Regions from separate parts of the Homo sapiens genome. Here all the other regions are linked to region 1. Evidence: promoter capture Hi-C in 16 types of primary human blood cells and fetal thymus (Javierre and others, 2016). All regions are on one chromosome and are shown on one strand. The core of a region is centred on a gene start or on the middle of the fragment in contact, and the rest is flanking DNA. Distances in the headings are between cores, read along the strand shown. Region 1 holds the start of TP53 (tumor protein p53). Region 2 has its middle 20 kb from the start of ALOX15B. Region 3 overlaps NEURL4 (neuralized E3 ubiquitin protein ligase 4). Region 4 holds the start of TMEM95 (transmembrane protein 95). Region 5 holds the start of PLSCR3 (phospholipid scramblase 3). Region 6 holds the start of SPEM1 (spermatid maturation 1).

Region 1 (3,262 bases), core at 291-2,790:
TTTTCCAGACCCCAACTCTGGCCCGTTCGCTTCTTCTTCAGAAAGGCTCCCGTTTGCTTCTTCTGCAGGAAGGCTTGTATTTTCAGAAAGTTCTTGCTCCTCGATTCGAGGACTCAACTCACTAGGGGAACCAAACTCTGTTTCCAGGGGAGTGGAGAGAGAAACTGGGTCCCCCTCCCGTAGCTCCTGGGACACAGCTGAGCCAGCCACAGGATCTGGGGACAACCGGGGCGGATCCCCCCTTTCGGGAGGCGGTGGCATCAGTTCAGAGTCCGCATTTTTATTCATCGGGGAAGCGTGGGGAGAAGGATGGGCTGGAGCTGGGTCCTGGTCTGAAGGACAGCAGTCCGGAGCTAACGGTTGAGTCTCCAAAGTCTTCATACTGCAGAGGAAGCACAGCGGAGATTAGCCTCAGCCAGGATGGCTTCGAAGTTCTCAGGGATCCGACGCAGAGCTAAAGAAACCCACCTGTGCTTCCCTCCTCTTCTGGGAGTAGGCAGAAGACTCCCGGGAGGAGAGGCGAACAGCGGACGCCAATTCTTTTGAAAGCACTGTGTTCCTTAGCACCGCGGGTCGCTACGGGCCTCTTGCTGTCGCGGGATTTCGGTCCACCTTCCGATTGGGCCGCCGCATCCCGGATCAGATTTCGCGGGCGACCCACGGAACCCGCGGAGCCGGGACGTGAAAGGTTAGAAGGTTTCCCGTTCCCATCAAGCCCTAGGGCTCCTCGTGGCTGCTGGGAGTTGTAGTCTGAACGCTTCTATCTTGGCGAGAAGCGCCTACGCTCCCCCTACCGAGTCCCGCGGTAATTCTTAAAGCACCTGCACCGCCCCCCCGCCGCCTGCAGAGGGCGCAGCAGGTCTTGCACCTCTTCTGCATCTCATTCTCCAGGCTTCAGACCTGTCTCCCTCATTCAAAAAATATTTATTATCGAGCTCTTACTTGCTACCCAGCACTGATATAGGCACTCAGGAATACAACAATGAATAAGATAGTAGAAAAATTCTATATCCTCATAAGGCTTACGTTTCCATGTACTGAAAGCAATGAACAAATAAATCTTATCAGAGTGATAAGGGTTGTGAAGGAGATTAAATAAGATGGTGTGATATAAAGTATCTGGGAGAAAACGTTAGGGTGTGATATTACGGAAAGCCTTCCTAAAAAATGACATTTTAACTGATGAGAAGAAAGGATCCAGCTGAGAGCAAACGCAAAAGCTTTCTTCCTTCCACCCTTCATATTTGACACAATGCAGGATTCCTCCAAAATGATTTCCACCAATTCTGCCCTCACAGCTCTGGCTTGCAGAATTTTCCACCCCAAAATGTTAGTATCTACGGCACCAGGTCGGCGAGAATCCTGACTCTGCACCCTCCTCCCCAACTCCATTTCCTTTGCTTCCTCCGGCAGGCGGATTACTTGCCCTTACTTGTCATGGCGACTGTCCAGCTTTGTGCCAGGAGCCTCGCAGGGGTTGATGGGATTGGGGTTTTCCCCTCCCATGTGCTCAAGACTGGCGCTAAAAGTTTTGAGCTTCTCAAAAGTCTAGAGCCACCGTCCAGGGAGCAGGTAGCTGCTGGGCTCCGGGGACACTTTGCGTTCGGGCTGGGAGCGTGCTTTCCACGACGGTGACACGCTTCCCTGGATTGGGTAAGCTCCTGACTGAACTTGATGAGTCCTCTCTGAGTCACGGGCTCTCGGCTCCGTGTATTTTCAGCTCGGGAAAATCGCTGGGGCTGGGGGTGGGGCAGTGGGGACTTAGCGAGTTTGGGGGTGAGTGGGATGGAAGCTTGGCTAGAGGGATCATCATAGGAGTTGCATTGTTGGGAGACCTGGGTGTAGATGATGGGGATGTTAGGACCATCCGAACTCAAAGTTGAACGCCTAGGCAGAGGAGTGGAGCTTTGGGGAACCTTGAGCCGGCCTAAAGCGTACTTCTTTGCACATCCACCCGGTGCTGGGCGTAGGGAATCCCTGAAATAAAAGATGCACAAAGCATTGAGGTCTGAGACTTTTGGATCTCGAAACATTGAGAACTCATAGCTGTATATTTTAGAGCCCATGGCATCCTAGTGAAAACTGGGGCTCCATTCCGAAATGATCATTTGGGGGTGATCCGGGGAGCCCAAGCTGCTAAGGTCCCACAACTTCCGGACCTTTGTCCTTCCTGGAGCGATCTTTCCAGGCAGCCCCCGGCTCCGCTAGATGGAGAAAATCCAATTGAAGGCTGTCAGTCGTGGAAGTGAGAAGTGCTAAACCAGGGGTTTGCCCGCCAGGCCGAGGAGGACCGTCGCAATCTGAGAGGCCCGGCAGCCCTGTTATTGTTTGGCTCCACATTTACATTTCTGCCTCTTGCAGCAGCATTTCCGGTTTCTTTTTGCCGGAGCAGCTCACTATTCACCCGATGAGAGGGGAGGAGAGAGAGAGAAAATGTCCTTTAGGCCGGTTCCTCTTACTTGGCAGAGGGAGGCTGCTATTCTCCGCCTGCATTTCTTTTTCTGGATTACTTAGTTATGGCCTTTGCAAAGGCAGGGGTATTTGTTTTGATGCAAACCTCAATCCCTCCCCTTCTTTGAATGGTGTGCCCCACCCCGCGGGTCGCCTGCAACCTAGGCGGACGCTACCATGGCGTGAGACAGGGAGGGAAAGAAGTGTGCAGAAGGCAAGCCCGGAGGTATTTTCAAGAATGAGTATATCTCATCTTCCCGGAGGAAAAAAAAAAAGAATGGGTACGTCTGAGAATCAAATTTTGAAAGAGTGCAATGATGGGTCGTTTGATAATTTGTCGGAAAAACAATCTACCTGTTATCTAGCTTTGGGCTAGGCCATTCCAGTTCCAGACGCAGGCTGAACGTCGTGAAGCGGAAGGGGCGGGCCCGCAGGCGTCCGTGTGGTCCTCCGTGCAGCCCTCCGGCCCGAGCCGGTTCTTCCTGGTAGGAGGCGGAACTCGAATTCATTTCTCCCGCTGCCCCATCTCTTAGCTCGCGGTTGTTTCATTCCGCAGTTTCTTCCCATGCACCTGCCGCGTACCGGCCACTTTGTGCCGTACTTACGTCATCTTTTTCCTAAATCGAGGTGGCATTTACACACAGCGCCAGTGCACACAGCAAGTGCACAGGAAGATGAGTTTTGGCCCCTAACCGCTCCGTGATGCCTACCAAGTCACAGACCCTTTTCATCGTCCCAGAAACGTTTCATCACGTCTCTTCCCAGTCGATTCCCGACCCCACCTTTATTTTGATCTCCATAACCATTTTGC
Region 2 (3,262 bases), core at 530-3,029, 370 kb before region 1:
ATGGGCTTTGGAGGCTCAACAGTGGCCGCACCTAAGAAGGATATCCAATTCCTCTTCGGTCAAATTTAACTGAGACCTCAATCGGCTGGGTTATTCCGTCCTCATTTTTTTCCTAATCCTTTCCCAGGAATATATCCCATTTTGGTCATCATTCTTTGGCTCTCAGGACTGTAAATTGCAGGGGGAATGGTGATTTCTGTACCCCATTGCTGTAACAAATCTCTCCCCTACAAATTAATGGGAATGAAAGTAATCATAGGTTGGATGGTGACTTCCTGCCCATCTGGTCTTAAACGATGTAAAATTGTAGCACTTTGATAGACTTCAGATGCTGTGCCTACTCCAATCAAGCCCATAGAAGCCTTTTGTCGGGGCCACGCTTTTGGCCACTGATTTAGAGCTATAATTGAAATATTAGCACCTGTGTCTACCAGTCCTTCAAACTGTTTTCCCTGAATCATTGTGCACACAGGTCTGTTTTTAGAAGCTTGATTTACTCAATAGGCTGCTTTTCCTTCACTGTCAGTACTGCCAAAACCACTTTCTCTTTTTACTGTACTTTTTTCTACTATTACATAAGGTAATAACAACAGCTGAGCAATTCTATCTCCTGGGTTTGCACTCCAAGGAATACTGGAACTAATAACCAATTGAATTTCTCCCACAAAATCTGAATCAATCAGCCCAGTATGAATCTGAACTCCTTTTAAGTTTAGACTAGATGTTCCTAAAACAAGTCCAACTGTCCATCAGGTAAAGGGCCAAATACTCCAGTGGGGACTTTTTGAGGGGATTTCCCTGGAAGCAGAGAGATAGCTTTTGGGAAACATAAATCTAAGCCTGTACTCCCTGCTGTAGCTGGCGCCAATTGTGTTACTGTGGTGGTTGGGCAAGAGACAATGATGGTGGTTGGACTAGAGGCAATGACCGACTGAGGGACCAACTGCTGGAGTGAGAATGCCCCCGTTTGGAGCGGGGCCTGAGGCTGGCCCCTCTTCCTGTTTCCCGACTGCGGTTGTAACGGTTGGCCATTTTTGTCAAATTTGAAGTGACACTGATTAGCCCAATGTTTACCCTTCTGGCACCTGGGACATAAGCCAGGTGGTTCTTTTATTTGATTATATCTTGCCTGTTTGTTCGATTTGTTCTTACGTTCCTTTTTTGTGTGTCCAAATTGCCCACAATTGTAACAATTGCCTGAAAAGTTTTTAATTGGACCTCCCACTTTTAACTCTGTCGTGGCTTGAACCATTATCATAGCCTTATGCATGATTCCACCAACTCCATTACATGCCCTGATATATTCATTAATCACATCAACTCCCACCGGAACCTTTCCTTTCACTGGGTGAATAGCTGACTGGCATTCAGGGTTAGTATTCTCACAAGCCAATAATTCTACAATCACCTTCCTGGCACTTTCTTTCTTTCTTTCTTTTTTTTTTTTTTTTTTTGAGGCGGAGTTTCGCTCTTGTTACCCAGGCTGGAGTGCAGTGGCGTGATCTCGGCTCACCGCAACCTCCGCCTCCTGGGTTCAAGCAATTCTCCTGCCTCAGCCTCCTGAGTAGCTGGGATTACAGACATGTGCCATCACGCCCGGCTAATTTTTATATTTTTAGTAGAGACGGGGTTTCTCCATGTTGGTCAGGCTGGTCTCCAACTCCCGACCTCAGGTGATCCGCCCACCTCGGCCTCCCAAAGTGCTGGGATTACAGGCATGAGCCACCGCACCCGGCCTTCCTGGCACTTTCATCAGTGAGAGCCTTCTGTGCTGCGTCTTGAAGGCGAGCAATGAAATCAGGATATGGTTCCTTTGAGCCTTGTCTAATAGAATTAAAAGACTGATAAGTAGTTCCCAGATCCTGAATTTTCTCCCATGCCCTCAAACAGCAATTGCGAATTTGTTCAATGGCATCATCTCGAAGTCCTGATGGTTGTTTACAGTTCCCCATTGACCCCCTATTCCTAGAAGTTGTTCAAATGTAATGGCAATAGCAGGATTAGCAGCACGGTTTTTTCGATCTTGATTTTGAGCCTCGTCGGTCCACCAAGTCTTAAACTGAAGAAATTGGGAGGGCGAAAGTGTAACTTTCGTTAAAATCTCCCAATCACACGGAGTCAATAGCTTATTCTGAGCCACAGATTGCAATAGCGATCGGATGAAAGGCGAATTGGGACCATACTGACCAACAGCTGCTTTAAGATCTTTGAGCAGCTTAAAAGAAAATGGTTCCCATACCGCTTGATGGGCTCCACCTTGCTGTCGTGGGGGTTGCAAAACTACTGCAAACTGCCAGGCATCAAGATCTCCGGCTAATCTAGCCTGCCGAATAGTAAACTGTAATGGCGATTCATTAACATTAGATGGCAGTGCAGCCTTATGTTGTACTGGTGCTACACCATGCGCTCGTGGTTCCTGAGGCCACAATTCATTCATTCGTGAAACAGGGCAAATTTGAGATTCAGACCTCCAAGGCTCCAAGCTACATTGCTTTATTGGAGGCGGCCACTCCGGATGATCCCAATGAGGAGCCGACTGCTCCTCAAGGCCCTTCTTTGTTTTAAACATCTTGGCATATATGGCTTCTCTATTTTAGGAGCAGCTGAAGGTCCCACGTGCTCCTCAAAAGAAATTAACTCATCTCCAGGTTTGTCTGTATTTTCCTCAAAATCTTCTTCACTATCCTCTCCTCCTTCAGCAGCATCACCACCTTCCTCTGCAGAAATTCTTTCTGCTGGAGGATAAGCCTCATTTTCCGATTGAAACGGTTCCGAGGCTGCTTTAACTATAGCCCAGTTTGACCAGGCTGTTAGGGGGATAAATTTTCCTTCCTTACAAACTTGTTTTAAGGCAATTCCCACCTGTTCCCAATCTTTGAAGTCCATGGTACCATGTTCAGGAAACCAAGGACGATATTGCTCTACTGTTGGAAACAGAGTAATCAAATTTTCTGTGCTAGCCTTAATTCCTGCCCTCTTTAAGAGGAGCTTAATAAAATGTAAATATGCAGAATGTTTACTTTTGGATTGTCCCATGGTGTCCCTGGAATGCTCCGAGTGCACAAGCTTACCGCAAGGCCGACCACACGTTCTCGGGAGTTCCTGGACAGACCGTTCTTCACAACGACCACGCTCAGGTGTAACTTCACCTGGGTTCAAGGAGACCGTGTTGGGTGCCAAAGATGTAGGGGAACCTGCCTGATACACCACCCGCAGGCTCTCCCCTTCCCGGTGGAGACGAGGGAATGAGAAAAGAAATAAA
Region 3 (3,262 bases), core at 241-2,740, 360 kb after region 1:
GCTGAGAGATGGACGCTCTGTGTTGGAGGAGTATGGTCAGGACCTGGACCAGCTTGGTGAAGGGGACCGCGTGGGCGTGGAGCGCACAGTTGCTGGGGAGCTTCGGCTCTGGGTGAATGGGCGGGATTGCGGTGTGGCTGCCACAGGCCTGCCCCCTCGTGTCTGGGCCGTCGTGGACCTTTATGGCAAGTGCACCCAGATCACCGTGCTACCCCCTGAGCCAGGCTTCAGCCCCCCTACTCCCATCCCCACACCTCCCCTCGAGCCCTTGGCCCCCACTGAAGACTCTGCCTTGGCTGAACAGGGGACCTCTGCAGATGAAGGTGAGAACACAGCTAGGGCAGTGGTGGTGGGGTGGGGACGGAATGGGGGAAATAGAGTGACAAGACAGGCTGGGTGTGGGCAGGGCCACCCTGATCCCCAAGTCTGTTGAATGGGAGAGCAGGAGCTAGAGGATGGGGGGTTCTCCTGGCTATGGGCCGTGAAGCAGGGACTGAACCCTTATTCCCCTCCCATCCCACCTGGTCCCCAGCCTTCATGGTGTCCCCAGCGCAGGCCCGGCCGGAGACGTTTCCTAACAGCCTTGAGTCGCATAATGGTGAGGGCTTTGGGGAGGCCCTGGGAAGGGGAGTGGGAAGTGAGGTGGACAAGGGAGGGCCCTCAGGAGAAGGGGTAGGGAGAGAGGCACCAGGTCTGGGGGTGTAGAGCCTCATCCCAACTTCCGAGCTTCCTTCTTCCATCCTGCTGCTATAGACTTTGCCAACATGGAGCTGTCTGAGGTGGTGAGCAACACCATCCTGTCTGCCTACAATGGAGGGCTCCTGAATGTGAACCTGAGCTCCCCACCGGCAGGGGAAGGCCTGGGATCTAGCGGTGCTGCCACCTCGCCCATTCTCACTTCCAACGATGCCCTGCTCTTTCATGAAAAGTGCGGGACCCTCATCAAACTCAGCAACAATAATAAGACGGCTGAGCGCCGGCGGCCCCTGGATGAATTCAACAATGGGGTTGTCATGACCAATCGCCCCCTTCGGGACAATGAGATGTTTGAGGTGTGCAAAGTCCTGTGGTCTGGTTGGCGCCTTATCCCTGGGAGCTAAAGATGGGGATTGACCCTTGGTGCTAGGAGGGTGGGCCCTGGGGAAGAACCAAGGGCTGAAGGTCCCTTTCTGCATTTACATTCCCTGCTTCTCCCTTCTGTCCCTCAATGCCAGATCCGTATCGACAAGCTTGTTGATAAGTGGTCAGGCTCCATTGAGATTGGGGTCACCACCCACAACCCCAACAGTTTGGAGTACCCAGCCACCATGACCAACCTCCAGTCAGGTACCAGCCCCGGGCAGGGGCGGGGGTGCAGGCCTGGTGTTGCTGAGGGGAAGGAAGCCCCGTACCCGAACCCAAGTGTCCACTATCACCCAGGCACCATCATGATGAGCGGCTGTGGAATCCTGACCAATGGCAAGGGCACCCGCCGGGAGTACTGCGAATTCAGTCTGGATGAGTTGCAGGTGAGGGTGGGGCACAGATCCCTGGGCCGCTTTCAGCAGAGCCACAGGTACTCTGTGTCCCTGCCAGGGCACCAAGCAGGGTCTCCTATGTGACCTAGAGGCAGTCCCTGTATCTTCCACCTAAAGGTTCCTTCCTAGAAGCCTGAGTTGCCCAAGAGTTCAGCACTCAGATTTTGGAGTCAGATGGTTGAATTCCTCTTACTGTTTTCCCATTTGTAGTAGCGAACCGGGGCAAGAAGCTTATCCTCTTTGATTGCTCCCCCACCTCCTGCAATCTCTAAAATGAGCCTACGAGTAGTACTTATTCCATAGGCTGAGACTTGTAGAAGCTAATGTCTGTGAGGTGGTTTAACTCAGTGCCTGACTCACGTGGAGCATTGACGAAATGTGGAAATTGTCATGTCTGGAAAACAAGGACCCAGGACCTGTCCTCCAGGGTGGTCTGAGACTCTCACGAATACCTTCTGGAGTTGTTCCTGTGTGGAGTGGGGTGCTGAGCAGGCCTCAGGACTCCTCTAAACTGTTTGTCTTCTTTGATTAGGAGGGTGACCACATTGGCCTCACAAGGAAGTCCAACTCTGCCCTACACTTCTTCATTAATGGTATCGATCAGGGTAAGGGCCGCCCAGAGAGAGCCTCTGGGCCGGGGCTTTCGGTGGGGCTGGGACTGGGGGCTGTACCTCATCCTCCTGCTTCTCTTTGGTGCTTGGCCTCCCTGTGTTTGACTTTCTCCCCTCATTCTCCCTGTCCACTCCCACACCCCCGTACCTTCCTGCCACAGGAGTGGCAACCCCCTTGACGCCCCCAGTGGTGTATGGTGTGGTGGACTTGTACGGGATGGCAGTGAAGGTGACCATCGTCCACAATAACAACCACAGTGACCGTCTCCGCCGAAACAACGCCATCCTGCGGGCGCTGTCCCCCGAGGGTGCTCTCCGCCGTGCTGCCCCTGCCGCCCAGGCAGAACCTGAGCGCCTGCTCTTCCACCCCAACTGTGGGCAGAAGGCAGCCATCACCCACGAGGGACGCACTGCCCTGAGGCCCCAGTATGGCCCATGGGGTGGGGAGAAGCCTGAAGAAGGGATTCTAATGGGGGGGGGGGGGCGGGGCAAGGAAGTGGAAGGCAGAGGGAGCCTGGCGGGGGCAGCTTCCTGGAGGTTGAGCTTTAGTTCTTTGGCTTGGGGCAGTGAGTGTTGGCAGGCATTGCTGGGCTAAGCCTTGGCACATTGAGAGCGTGTGTTGGGGATCTGACTCTCCACTTGCTGTGCCCTCAGTGCCACCGATGACTTCAATCACGGCGTGGTGCTGAGCAGCAGAGCCCTGCGGGATGGAGAGGTGTTCCAGGTGCGCATCGACAAGATGGTGGACAAATGGGCTGGCTCCATTGAAATTGGTGTCACCACCCACAACCCTGCCTACCTCCAGTTGCCCTCCACCATGACCAACTTGCGCTCTGGTGAGCTCCCAGGAAGGGCAGGGACAGGATAGGGTTTTGGGGGGAAGCTATCCCCAAAGCCCTGGCACTTGTTCTGCAGCTCCTTTTTCACTTGTCACTCTTGTGACCACTCATTCAGTGGCTAGAGAGTGTCCCGTGGGCAGGGCTGTGGCTGTCTTGGAAGCTGCAGAGTTTTCTTGTCCTGCTCAGGGAAGAAATCTAGTCATCAAAGAAAAGGCAAGGTGGACTGTGGGCTCGGGAGTCCTGTGGGCGCTGCTGTGGCAAGGAGAGGAGCCCTGCATTTCCCCTCATGTCCCCT
Region 4 (3,262 bases), core at 235-2,734, 330 kb after region 1:
AGCGTCTTCACAAGCCACTTTTTGCTTGGAGGTGGTGGGACCTGAGGGAAGACGAGGGTGGGAAGCCTACGGGAGGGGCCTGGGAGGGACAGAGGGAGGGAGGATGGGTGGTGGAAGGCACTGGGCGGGGTAGGATTCCTGTCTTTATCCCAAAACTCACTCCACCAGGAGGCTCAGAACACCCAGAAGCAGGAAAGCTCCGAAGATGGAGAGGAGCAGAATCTTGGCTTCCCAAAGATCCTGACTTCCTGCAGGGAACCCAGGAGGCAGTGAATGATTCTGGGACCCACACGCACCGACTTGGGAGCCCAAGGGCTCAGGGATCTGGGCAAGGTGGGGCGGGGCCAAGATGGGCGTGAGGACCTGGGAAGCAGCGCTTTCGGGGCCAGCAGGACACCTCCGTCCCCTTGCAGGTGGAGCAGTTGTACAGCGTGGTGCTGCCCCCTGCAGGAGACAGCAGAGGCAACGCTGGGGAGGGGAGGCCGGGCCTCCACCCTGCCTGGTACCCAGCTTCCTCCTGCAGCTGCCAGGCCCTCCTCTGACACCCTGCAGGCCCCAGGTCCTTGCTACCCCTTTCCTTTCCTACTCACGGCAGGCGGGGGGACAGAGAGCTGAAATGAAAGACAAGGAAGGGGTGGGGGTGTGAATGGATGAGCTGCTCACCACACATTCCTTTGGTTAAGACCCTAGGCTCCCCTTGAGGCCCATCCCGCATCGGTACCTTCCCTGGTGTACTCAGGGAGCTTGGTCTTTCGAAGCCAACTCCAATATGAAGGGAGTGAGGAGACAGCCTCTTTGATTTCTGGGGAGGCAGACAGCAGCTCCGTTTCCCTGGGCCTCGACGGGGCCAGTTCCCCCTCTCTTCACGCAGCCCCTCCCTGATCAGCCCTCCTGTCTCTACCCCTCCACCCTTCCCTGCCCACCCCAACCCCTGTCACCCGTCCCTCTCCTTGGTATCCTCCCAAGCCCCTAGGTCACTCTTTCCCCTTGACCTCACCCATGACCCTCAGGACTCTGTGAGTCTTCTCTGTGACTTTGTTCATGGACACCTCATCTGTGGAGATGGGCAAGGACCAGCGATTCCCTCATCAGCCCAGGTTCTGGGGTCTCTCCTGACTTTCCCAGATATGGAGCTCTCTCAGAGGGAAAGGCCAGCATGTCCAGAAAGGGCCACAGATGGAGGGCACAGCTGGAAGGTCACATGCCACCCTCTGGGGGTAGGGGGGTGAGTGCTTGCTGGGCCCATCCCTGGATGTCTGGTCCTACCTAAGGCAAAGGCCGAGAAGTCTGGGGAGGCCCCACATTCCTTCTGCCTGGCCTCCATCTGGCTGCAGAGCCGAGCCAGGCGGCCTGACAAGTCGTGGGCTGGGAGGCGACAGAAGACACAAGCCTGGGCGGCTGCCAGGAAAACCCCGCCTAGTGCCAGCCTCCACATGAGGACCACTGGGGGATGGGGCGGCGCTGCCCCAGCTGAGCCGAGGAATGCTCTGCAGCCCTGGCTCCAGCCCTTGCCTGGAGGTTCTAGAATGTTCCAGAACAATGAACAATGGCACTGCCCATCCTCAGCTGGGGTAAAGCTGGGGCTCAAGGAACTGGGGTCCAGAAGGCATCTCCAGCAGGCGATGGGCAGAGAAAGCAGGGCTTCTGTTGTGAGGGGACAGCACCCCCAACCTGGCCCTCAACAGCCTTCACAAGTTTGTGGTTCCAAAAGCAGTTTTATTTTTCTTCTTGTAAATCATGACCAGTGAGAAATAATGTGTGCCCCACCCCCCACCAGTGAAGAAGCTGTGCGTGAGTATCCCACCCGCTCTGGGACCCAGAAATCCCATCCCTTCCCATCTCCTCCCCCACTGTCCCAAACTCTTCGTCTCCTCTCTCTGCCCTGGGCGGCCTTGGGCCTTCCCCAGCTATCTCCTAGCAACAGGTCCATGGTTGCCTCAGCAACCAAGAGTTCCATACAGGCCTCAGAGGCCCAGCTAAGCCCAGTGACTTCTCTTACCTCTCACCAGGAAGATCCCAGTGACTCAAACCCCAACAGGCCCCTCCTGGCTACGTGGTGATGCATATACATGCGTGCACATAAACACACACACACACACACACACACACACCCTGTGATTAAACTACTAATTGTCAACCACCTCACAGGTATACCACAGACACACCCTGTGCCAGAAGAGTCGCTAGGCAACCCCAAACAGGCCTGGACATGCGGACATCACAGACACTGTAGTCAGCAACACAGATATGAACCAGGATGCCAGGGACCTATACATCAGTCAGCCACACGGGCTGATATGCACGCACACATGAAGAAAGGCCAGGACCCACAGATACTACCCTCTTCCCCCTGGCCAGCCCTGCCATCAGTATGGGATTCTTCCAGATGAGGGATGCTCCAGCCCCATTGCCATGGGGACTGTCCTAGCTCCCATACATCAACCTAGGGTGGGTTGTGGCCTTTCTGCCTCCCTCAGTAGATGGCTTGGAACATAGCAAAGAACTCCTCTTCCGATGTTCCAGAGTGTTCTGGCCTCTCATTGGTCAGGCCAGGCCAGGCCACCCAGCTTCAGGAGTAGAAGCCATGGTCCAAGAGACCGCATTGGGAAAATGCAAAGTCCTCCCTTTTCCCCAGACCTCAATATCCTTCCAGGGTTTTGCTAGGTCTAGTCTGGGTAAAGAGATGTTCCCCCCTTTTCCAAGCCCTTAAACACTGAGCTCCAAATCAAGGAGAGACTGGAGGTGCTCAGCCTTAGGCAAGAACAAGCTGAGAGAACCTTCCCTACCCCTCCCAGGGTCAGCACAGGTTGAGACCTTCTGGACCACTTGTGAGTCCTTGGTGGGCTCAGGTTTGGGAATTCCTGCCCACATCTGAGCTCCAGTCAGGTGCAGGAGAGTCCCGACTCTCATAGCTCCTGAAGCAGAGCTGGAAAGAGGCTTCAGGGGTGCTAGTACCCCATTCTCTCTCCTCCCCACAGTCAAACTGAGAACAGCATCCTCAGTGCCGGACAAAGCGCAGAGACCTGGAGTTGAGCAGGTCTTCGGGGTCGGGGAAGACAGAGTCTAGTCGGAAGCCGTGCTCGAGAGCCACCCGCAGCACCTCCTCCAGGAAGCTTGGGGTGCCCACCACCTCCCGCCGCTCTCCTGGCCCCCCAGTCCACAGCGGCTGCAGCCCCAGTCTCCCATACTCCACCTCGGGGAGTTCCACGGGGCGGGGGGCCCACTCCAGATGAAAATGTGGGCTCCCCTCTGCCCTATCCCC
Region 5 (3,262 bases), core at 427-2,926, 290 kb after region 1:
ACTAAAAGGCCATGCGTGACCTGGCTTCTTGTGACCCCTCTGACCTTCCCCTCATTAACTCCATTCCAGTCTCACTGGTCTTCTGCCTCAGGACCTATGCCCTTGCTGTTCCCTCTGCCTGAAACACTTACCCAGTAATCTGCACAGCTCAGTCCCTCATCTCCTTTAGGTTCTGGGTCAACTATCATCTTCTTTCTTTCTTTCTTTCTTTTCTTTCTTTTTTTTTTTTGAGACGGAGTCTTGCTTTGTCGCCAGGCTGGAGTGCAGTGGCAAGATCTCAGCTCACTACAACCTCTGCCTCCCAGGTTCAAGCGATTCCCCTGCCTCAGCCTCCCGAGTAGCTGGGACTACAAGCGCCCGCCACCACACCTGGCTAATTTTTTTGTATTTTAGTAGAGACGGGGTTTCACCATATTGGCCAGGATGGTCTCCATCTCCTGACCTCATGATTCGCCTGCCTCGGCCTCCCAAAGTGCTGGGATTACAGGCGTGAGCCACCGTGCCCGGCCTAACTATCGCCTTATTGGTGATGCCTTCGCCTTATTGGTGATGTCTAAATAAATATTTATTTATTTATTTATTTATTTTGAGATGGAGTCTCGCTCTGTTGCCCAGGCTGGAGTGCAATGGCGTAATCTCGGCTCACTGCAACCTCTGCCTCCCGGGTTCAAGAGTTTCTCCTACCTCAGCCTCCTGCATAGCTGGGACTACAGGCGCCCGCCACCACACCCGGCTAATTTTTGTATTTTTAGTAGAGATGGGTTTTTGCCATGTTGGCCAGGCTGGTCTCAAACTCCTGACCTCAGGTGATCCGCCCACCTCGGCCTCCCAAAGTGCTGGAATTACAGGCGTGAGCCACCGCGCCCCGCCACGATCTTTCTAAAACACACATTTGACCTTCTTTGTTCTAAAAATGTCTCGGTGGACTCCTCGCTGCTCGTGGGGCCAAATCGCAGCTTCCACACAACCCGCCCTGTATGTGGACTGCACTCCGTTTCTAAACTCATCTCTTGCGCCACTCAGCCAGTGGCCCCCAAGGCAGGACTGGTCCTGGCTCAGGATCCAGTCGAAGACACTCATCTCGGGGGTCTTTTCTGACCGCGCTTCCTCCTCTGGCCCTCTAGGCGGCCTGAGCACGCTCACTGACACCGTTTGGCGGCCTGTCACCCGCGTGGCTGGGGCACCTGCAGAAACTGCTGTCGCTGCGAGGTGCCCGTGTGGGTCACCGCTGTGCCAGGGAGAGAAGACGGCGAGGTCGCCCCTGGGAGGCAGAAGGCGAGCCAGGAGCCAGTCCTGGAAGCCAATGAGTGAGTGTGAAGGGTGTTCCGCTGCGTCAGCGAGGCCCGACTGCCCTTGGGAGGAGGAGCCCAGGGGCCAGCGCGGCCCGGGCCGCCCTCGCCTCCCACCCAGGGCGCTGAGCACGCACGCCGCCGGCCTGGCGGCGTTCGCGGGGCCCGGGACCAGCCGCCGCCTTCTCCAGGCGCTCCTACTCTCTGGGCATCTGCAGTCCGAGCGGAAGGGGCGGGAACGTCGGCGACGCCGAGGAGCAAAGCCCACGATCGGCTTCCCGGGGCAGCGGACGGCTGCCTTCCTCCCGGCGCAAACGCACCGCCCAGGAGGGGGCGGGCTCGGCGGGTCGGGGGGCGGGGCCGGGGTCCGAGCTCGGGCCCGCCTCCGCCTCCGCCAGCTCCTGTGAGCTGCCGAGTGCTAGGCACCCGGGCTCTTCTGGGGGCTCCAGGTGAGCGGGGGCACAGAGGGGTCAGGGAGACCGCCCTTGGGGTGGGGCTGTCGGTCTGACCGCGGGTCCATCTGTCCTGCCGTCGGCCCACAGCCTCCTCCGCAGGATGGGAGAACAAAGGGAGGGGGCGGTTCTGGGGCCCCCGAGGGAATCCAGGGTCCCAGGTACCCGGTCCCGCCCACTGACACTTGGGTTTCTCCCCGAGTCAGAGGCGCCGCCCAAGAGACCCTGGGCCGGCGCCGGGCGCAGCTGCCTCTCCGTCTTTGTGTCTGTCTCTGTGTCTGTCTGGCTATCTCCGAGTTTGCCTCCGCTTCCAGAACTAAGCCACCCAGACACCATCATCTCGAAAACCCCAGCCCTTCTCCCATGGCAGGTAAGTGCGCGCAAGTCTGGGGGTCTCCGTTATCCCCCCCACGGACTTGGGAGCCGGGTTTGAACACATCCTCCCGGAATGTGCTCGGACTGGCTGGGTGGGGCCCCTCCCTTCCTTCCGGGGAACCTCCACCCTGCTCCCCTGCCCCATCTTTCTCTGCCTCTTGCCACCACGTTTCCCCCGAAGCCTCGCGGCCCATGGGCTGAGGAATAAGGGGATGAGGCCTTGAGTCCCTTTCTAATCTATCCTGCTCCCACCGCTTTACAGGCTACTTGCCCCCCAAAGGCTACGCCCCTTCGCCCCCACCTCCCTACCCTGTCACCCCTGGGTACCCGGAGCCGGCGCTACATCCTGGGCCCGGGCAGGCGCCAGTGCCCGCCCAGGTACCTGCCCCAGCTCCCGGCTTCGCCCTCTTCCCCTCGCCTGGCCCCGTGGCCTTGGGGTCTGCTGCCCCCTTCTTGCCACTGCCAGGGGTGCCTTCTGGCCTCGAATTCCTGGTGCAGGTGAGTGGGAAGGAGGGAGGGAGGATGACTGGGAGGGGACTTGGGCGTCCAGATGGGCCAGCTGATGTGCGCGCCGCCCCTCTCTTTCCAGATTGATCAGATTTTGATTCACCAGAAGGCTGAGCGAGTGGAAAGTAAGTAGAAGGAGTGGGAGGTTGGACCTCATGATGGTGGCCCGGATGGTGGGCTCCTGGGCGCGCGAGGCTCTACGAGTCTCCCCGTGTCACCTCGGGCAGCGTTCCTAGGCTGGGAGACCTGTAATCGGTATGAACTGCGCTCTGGGGCCGGGCAGCCCCTGGGTCAGGCGGCCGAGGAGAGCAACTGCTGCGCCCGTCTGTGCTGTGGCGCCCGCCGGCCGCTGCGTGTCCGCCTGGCCGACCCCGGGGACCGTGAGGTGCTGCGTTTGCTCCGCCCGCTGCACTGTGGCTGCAGCTGCTGCCCCTGTGGCCTCCAGGAGGTGGGCGGAGGGAGGGGGCCGGGAGGGCGGGCCTTGGTGGGGCGGGACAATGATGAGGTCCACCTGAGATGAGGCCTGGATCAGGTGGGAGTGGGCAGGTGGGGATGGGAGGTTTAGTGAGGGCCAAATAGACAGATGATAGAGCTGGGACCCCTGCCTCCGCAGTGACCCTGTCTGCTTCCCACTCCCAG
Region 6 (3,262 bases), core at 414-2,913, 270 kb after region 1:
CAACAACAACAAACTAGTGGCCCATGCCTGTAGTCCTAGTGACTCAGGAGGCTGAGGTGGGAGACAGTTGGGACTGCAGTGAACTGTGATTGCACCACTGCACTCCAGCCCGGGCAACAGAGAAGACCCTGTCTCAAAAAAAAAAAAAAATTGAAAACAAGGTAGAGGCAGGTAAGAGCCTTGGAACCCAGAAGGGCCTAGGAAAGGCTGAGGACAGGGACAGGCCTGTGGGGCAAAAGGTTAATGAGGGTCCTCAGGGCTCAGGGCCCTGTGGCTAGGGAGAGCATTCTCTTCACAGCCACAGCTTCTAGGTGCTGTGTGGGCCCTGGCACCCCAGCACCACCACAGATCACCTCCTCTCTCCTTTTTATTTTTTTCCAGTCACCTCCCAGTTAGGGAACGGTACACCCAATTCTTGCTTGTCTCCTCGGCAGTGCTGGATCCAGAGGCTAGGGGGTAGCAGCCGGACAGGGCCTCCACCTCCCGGGTCAGTTCCCGAAGCCGCCGTCTCATGTCCCGGGCATCATACACTATTCGGCCTGAGGAGCGGTGCCGGGAAAATTCAGGGATGACTGCTGGGCCCAGGGTGGGAGCTGGGACAGGCTGGTACTGAGCCGCCTCTGCCTCTGGCACCGCCCCCTCCCCACCGTTCTTGTGGCTAGGAGCCTCAGGGCTGGGAGGTGGGGGGTTCACAGGATACACATAGGCCCTTAGGCCCAGCTCGGACCATATGCCTGTTTTGAGGGGCCTTTCCTCTACGGTAGGCTGGAAGCGGATGGTCTGGGGAGGGGACTCTGGGGCATCCTGAGACCAGGGAACCCAGGTCCCCTGAGTGTGTTGGAAGCCTTCCCAGTCCTCAGGGACATCCCAGTGGTAGGAGCAGATGGCTGGGTACTGATGAGGCTTCTCGTCATCAGTGTCAGGAGCCCAAGCTACTGGGCAGTGAGCACAGCGTGTGGGAGAGCCTCGACGGCGATGGCGGTGAGCTGGGGGCGGGGACACAGTCATCATCACAGGGTCCATGGTGCACCGAAGATGGACTGCAGGAGAACTCTGCTTCTTAGGGGGCTGGGTCTGCTTTCTGAGTAATGATGACTTGGGAGCTTCTGTGGATGGGGGAGAGGTGAGACTAGTGGGGAGGCCAGCTCCTACAGGCATGGAGAGGCAGGGCCCAGGAAGGGCAGCCACACAGCTATGTTGTCTGAGAGGGGCGAGCAAGAAGGGAAGGGGCTAATTTAGGGCTGAGGCTAGAGCACTTGGTTTCTGCCCCTCCTATGTCCCAGCCCCCAGACCTCTTACCTTTCTCACAAATGGTATCATGGAACACTTGGTATAAGACACCACGGAATCGGCTCCAGAGCTAGGTGGGGGAAGACACAGTGATCCCAGGTAGGCCCTGGCCGGCAGGCCTGCCCCCCACTATCCCACCAGCTCCCTCCCATCTGGCCCCACCCTGACCAGGGTCACTATATTGATGCTAATGTTAATGCAGATGATGAGGCCCAGCAGCAACAGGACAGAGTTGCCCAGGTCCTGGCAGCTGTTGCTGTTGCAGTTGTGATACGAGGCCCACTCGGGCCTCGGCCGCTCAACCATGGCCATGGGGTCCCTAGGACCACCGGGGCCCTTACGCCCCCAGCCCACCGTGCCGACAGTGTCCACTGACTGCCTGCCTGTCCCTGAGGGTCTTGGGAGTGAACGGGTCACAATGGTGCCAGGCCACTCCCTTCCAGTGTGCCAAGGGGCTACCCTGAGTCCTGGACCCGTGGCTGACCCTCTCGCCTGAGTCCAGGCCTTGGCAGAGGCCATGCCTCTCACCTCACATACCTCTGCTGAGCTAGCTGCCTACACCAGCCCACTGGGCCTCTGGCCTGTTTGACATCTGCCCCCATCAGCCTTTGTCCTTCCATTATAGAACGACACCAGGCTCCAGTCTCGGCATAGACACGGGTCCTGACATTCATTTGCCAAACAGACCCATTACCATGGCAACCAGACCCCAGCACACACTCCCCCTTCCTCTCAGACCTCAGAGCTGGTCACTGAAAAGACCCCTCCTCCCTCGTCACTTCCCCAGGGCTTGTTTCTTTAGAGACCGCCCTCCCCACAACAGAGCAGGCACAACCAACAGTTAAACTTTTATATTTACAATATTCTCTTCATCTTTTGCCAGGTTTAAAAATGTGTACAGAGCCGCAAAGGGTTGGGGTAGGGATAAGGGATTGTCGGGATTGTTTTGGGGAGAGGAGCTGGGCATTGGAGTCCGTGGCTGAATCATGGGGTCCCCCAGCCCCCCTCCCATGCCCCAATTCTGAGGGCATCTGTCTACAGGGTTCAGGGCCCAGGTCTCTAGCATTTGGAGGGCATGGCTGTTTGGAGAGGAGCTAGACCAGGCAGGGGAAAGGATCAGAAAATAACTAATTTTCCATGGATGGAGGTAGGAAGAGAAGGGACAGTCAAGAGGCAAAGTTCTGGGGACTCAAGACCAGGGATTCTGGATTTGGGTGTCAGTGGAAGACAGCACCCCAGCCCCTATTCAAGTTTGGCACTAACACCCCACAAAATGCCAGCAGATGAGGACTCTCCCCTCGTCCACTGTGTCCCTTAAGCCCTTCCAGACATCATTCTTTTCCCAAATGCCCAAGCCCAAGGCCCTCCGGGGAGTCACCTCACACATTTCAAATTATTCCTGCTGGTGTCTGCCCAAGCCCTGTCCCCACTGCCCCCTCCATCTGTTCCCCAGCACCGCTGACCTCATTCTCCCAACCTGTCCGGTGAGACCTTTCTCCCCACTGCCTCCCTCCACCATTCAAGGCTCCTTTCTTTCAGACAAGGAGGGGGCGTGGGTCAGAGGAGGGTGGTCAGCTGAGGAGAAGGCTGGTCTGACACTGAGATGGGGACAGCTTCAAAGAGGGGGACGGAGATGAAGGGGAACGGAGAACTGAGGCAGGGTGGGGGAGACATGGTGAGGAGAAGGGGCACAGGCGGGAGCCCCCTCACCTGCCACATCCCTCGCCCTGTATCCTGCTTGCCCTTAGTTTCCCCTGCCCTGCCTGGGACTGGGAAATTCTTGGCACATTTTGGGAGTCTTTCCGCTCAAATCCACCTACCCAGTTTGGCACGGATGAGCAATGCTCTGAGGCCTGGGGAAAAGGCTGTCCTCGGACCACAATGAGGGCTTTGGTCAAACATGCGTGGCCTCTGCGGGGGGCACGTTGCCACACCCCCTCCCCCCAACTCGGGAGCAAGGGCCGGGCCTCCC

The links. Contacts are between HindIII fragments. The CHiCAGO score rates a contact against its expected background, and 5 or more counts as called.
Region 2: a fragment that was not itself captured here is called in contact with the fragment with the promoter of TP53 in region 1 in 4 of 17 cell types (fetal thymus, naive CD4 T cells, megakaryocytes and 1 more); the score reaches 7.0 in fetal thymus.
Region 3: a contact is called between a fragment that was not itself captured here and the fragment with the promoter of TP53 in region 1, in 4 of 17 cell types (fetal thymus, naive CD4 T cells, neutrophils and 1 more). The highest score is 9.4, in fetal thymus.
Region 4: a contact is called between the fragment with the promoter of TMEM95 here and the fragment with the promoter of TP53 in region 1, in 2 of 17 cell types (naive CD8 T cells and total CD4 T cells). The highest score is 5.9, in naive CD8 T cells.
Region 5: a contact is called between a fragment that was not itself captured here and the fragment with the promoter of TP53 in region 1, in 2 of 17 cell types (fetal thymus and naive CD4 T cells). The highest score is 5.8, in fetal thymus.
Region 6: the fragment with the promoter of SPEM1 here is called in contact with the fragment with the promoter of TP53 in region 1 in 1 of 17 cell types (naive CD4 T cells); the score reaches 5.3 in naive CD4 T cells.

The regions. Positions count from the first base shown.
Region 1 is chr17:7,685,768-7,689,029 of GRCh38, reverse strand. It overlaps TP53 (tumor protein p53), which reads left to right and starts at 1,540. Exons shown (of 11, transcript NM_000546.6): 1 at 1,540-1,653. WRAP53 (WD repeat containing antisense to TP53) reads right to left here and starts at 553. Exons shown (of 11, transcript NM_001143992.2): 1 at 469-553; 2 at 1-382. The coding sequence starts at 381. RefSeq lists enhancers at 602-651, 1,450-2,649, 2,610-2,659, 2,123-2,670, 2,690-2,819 and a silencer at 3,120-3,179. The HindIII fragment of the contact is 572 bases long and covers 1,223-1,794 here.
Region 2 is chr17:8,056,958-8,060,219 of GRCh38, reverse strand. No RefSeq gene overlaps it. Among named protein-coding and RNA genes, the nearest start is that of ALOX15B, 20 kb to the right of the region's middle. RefSeq lists enhancers at 2,473-2,542, 2,026-2,543. The HindIII fragment of the contact is 2,579 bases long and covers 490-3,068 here.
Region 3 is chr17:7,324,501-7,327,762 of GRCh38, reverse strand. NEURL4 (neuralized E3 ubiquitin protein ligase 4) reads left to right here. Exons shown (of 29, transcript NM_032442.3): 2 at 1-323; 3 at 533-598; 4 at 754-1,052; 5 at 1,215-1,326; 6 at 1,420-1,508; 7 at 2,050-2,122; 8 at 2,290-2,554; 9 at 2,783-2,964. Among named protein-coding and RNA genes, the nearest start is that of NEURL4, 3.2 kb to the left of the region's middle. The HindIII fragment of the contact is 518 bases long and covers 1,232-1,749 here.
Region 4 is chr17:7,353,378-7,356,639 of GRCh38, reverse strand. It overlaps TMEM95 (transmembrane protein 95), which reads right to left and starts at 1,484. Exons shown (of 7, transcript NM_001320436.2): 1 at 1,267-1,484; 2 at 998-1,054; 3 at 722-802; 4 at 591-611; 5 at 364-444; 6 at 161-248; 7 at 1-41. The coding sequence starts at 1,435. The coding sequence ends at 8. KCTD11 (potassium channel tetramerization domain containing 11) reads right to left here. Exons shown (of 1, transcript NM_001363642.1): 1 at 1,696-3,262. The coding sequence ends at 2,999. RefSeq lists enhancers at 890-1,416, 1,417-1,943. The HindIII fragment of the contact is 23,288 bases long and covers 1-3,115 here.
Region 5 is chr17:7,392,953-7,396,214 of GRCh38, reverse strand. PLSCR3 (phospholipid scramblase 3) reads left to right here and starts at 1,690. Exons shown (of 8, transcript NM_020360.4): 1 at 1,690-1,738; 2 at 1,948-2,111; 3 at 2,379-2,614; 4 at 2,706-2,748; 5 at 2,851-3,071. The coding sequence starts at 2,105. TMEM256-PLSCR3 (TMEM256-PLSCR3 readthrough (NMD candidate)) reads left to right here. Exons shown (of 10, transcript NR_037719.1): 3 at 1,125-1,307; 4 at 1,948-2,111; 5 at 2,379-2,614; 6 at 2,706-2,748; 7 at 2,851-3,071. RefSeq lists a silencer at 1,313-1,802. The HindIII fragment of the contact is 7,925 bases long and covers 1-3,262 here.
Region 6 is chr17:7,418,725-7,421,986 of GRCh38, reverse strand. It overlaps SPEM1 (spermatid maturation 1), which reads right to left and starts at 1,663. Exons shown (of 3, transcript NM_199339.3): 1 at 1,459-1,663; 2 at 1,300-1,360; 3 at 355-1,106. The coding sequence starts at 1,602. The coding sequence ends at 382. It overlaps NLGN2 (neuroligin 2), which reads right to left. Exons shown (of 7, transcript NM_020795.4): 7 at 2,127-3,262. RefSeq lists an enhancer at 1,660-2,179. The HindIII fragment of the contact is 12,172 bases long and covers 1-3,262 here.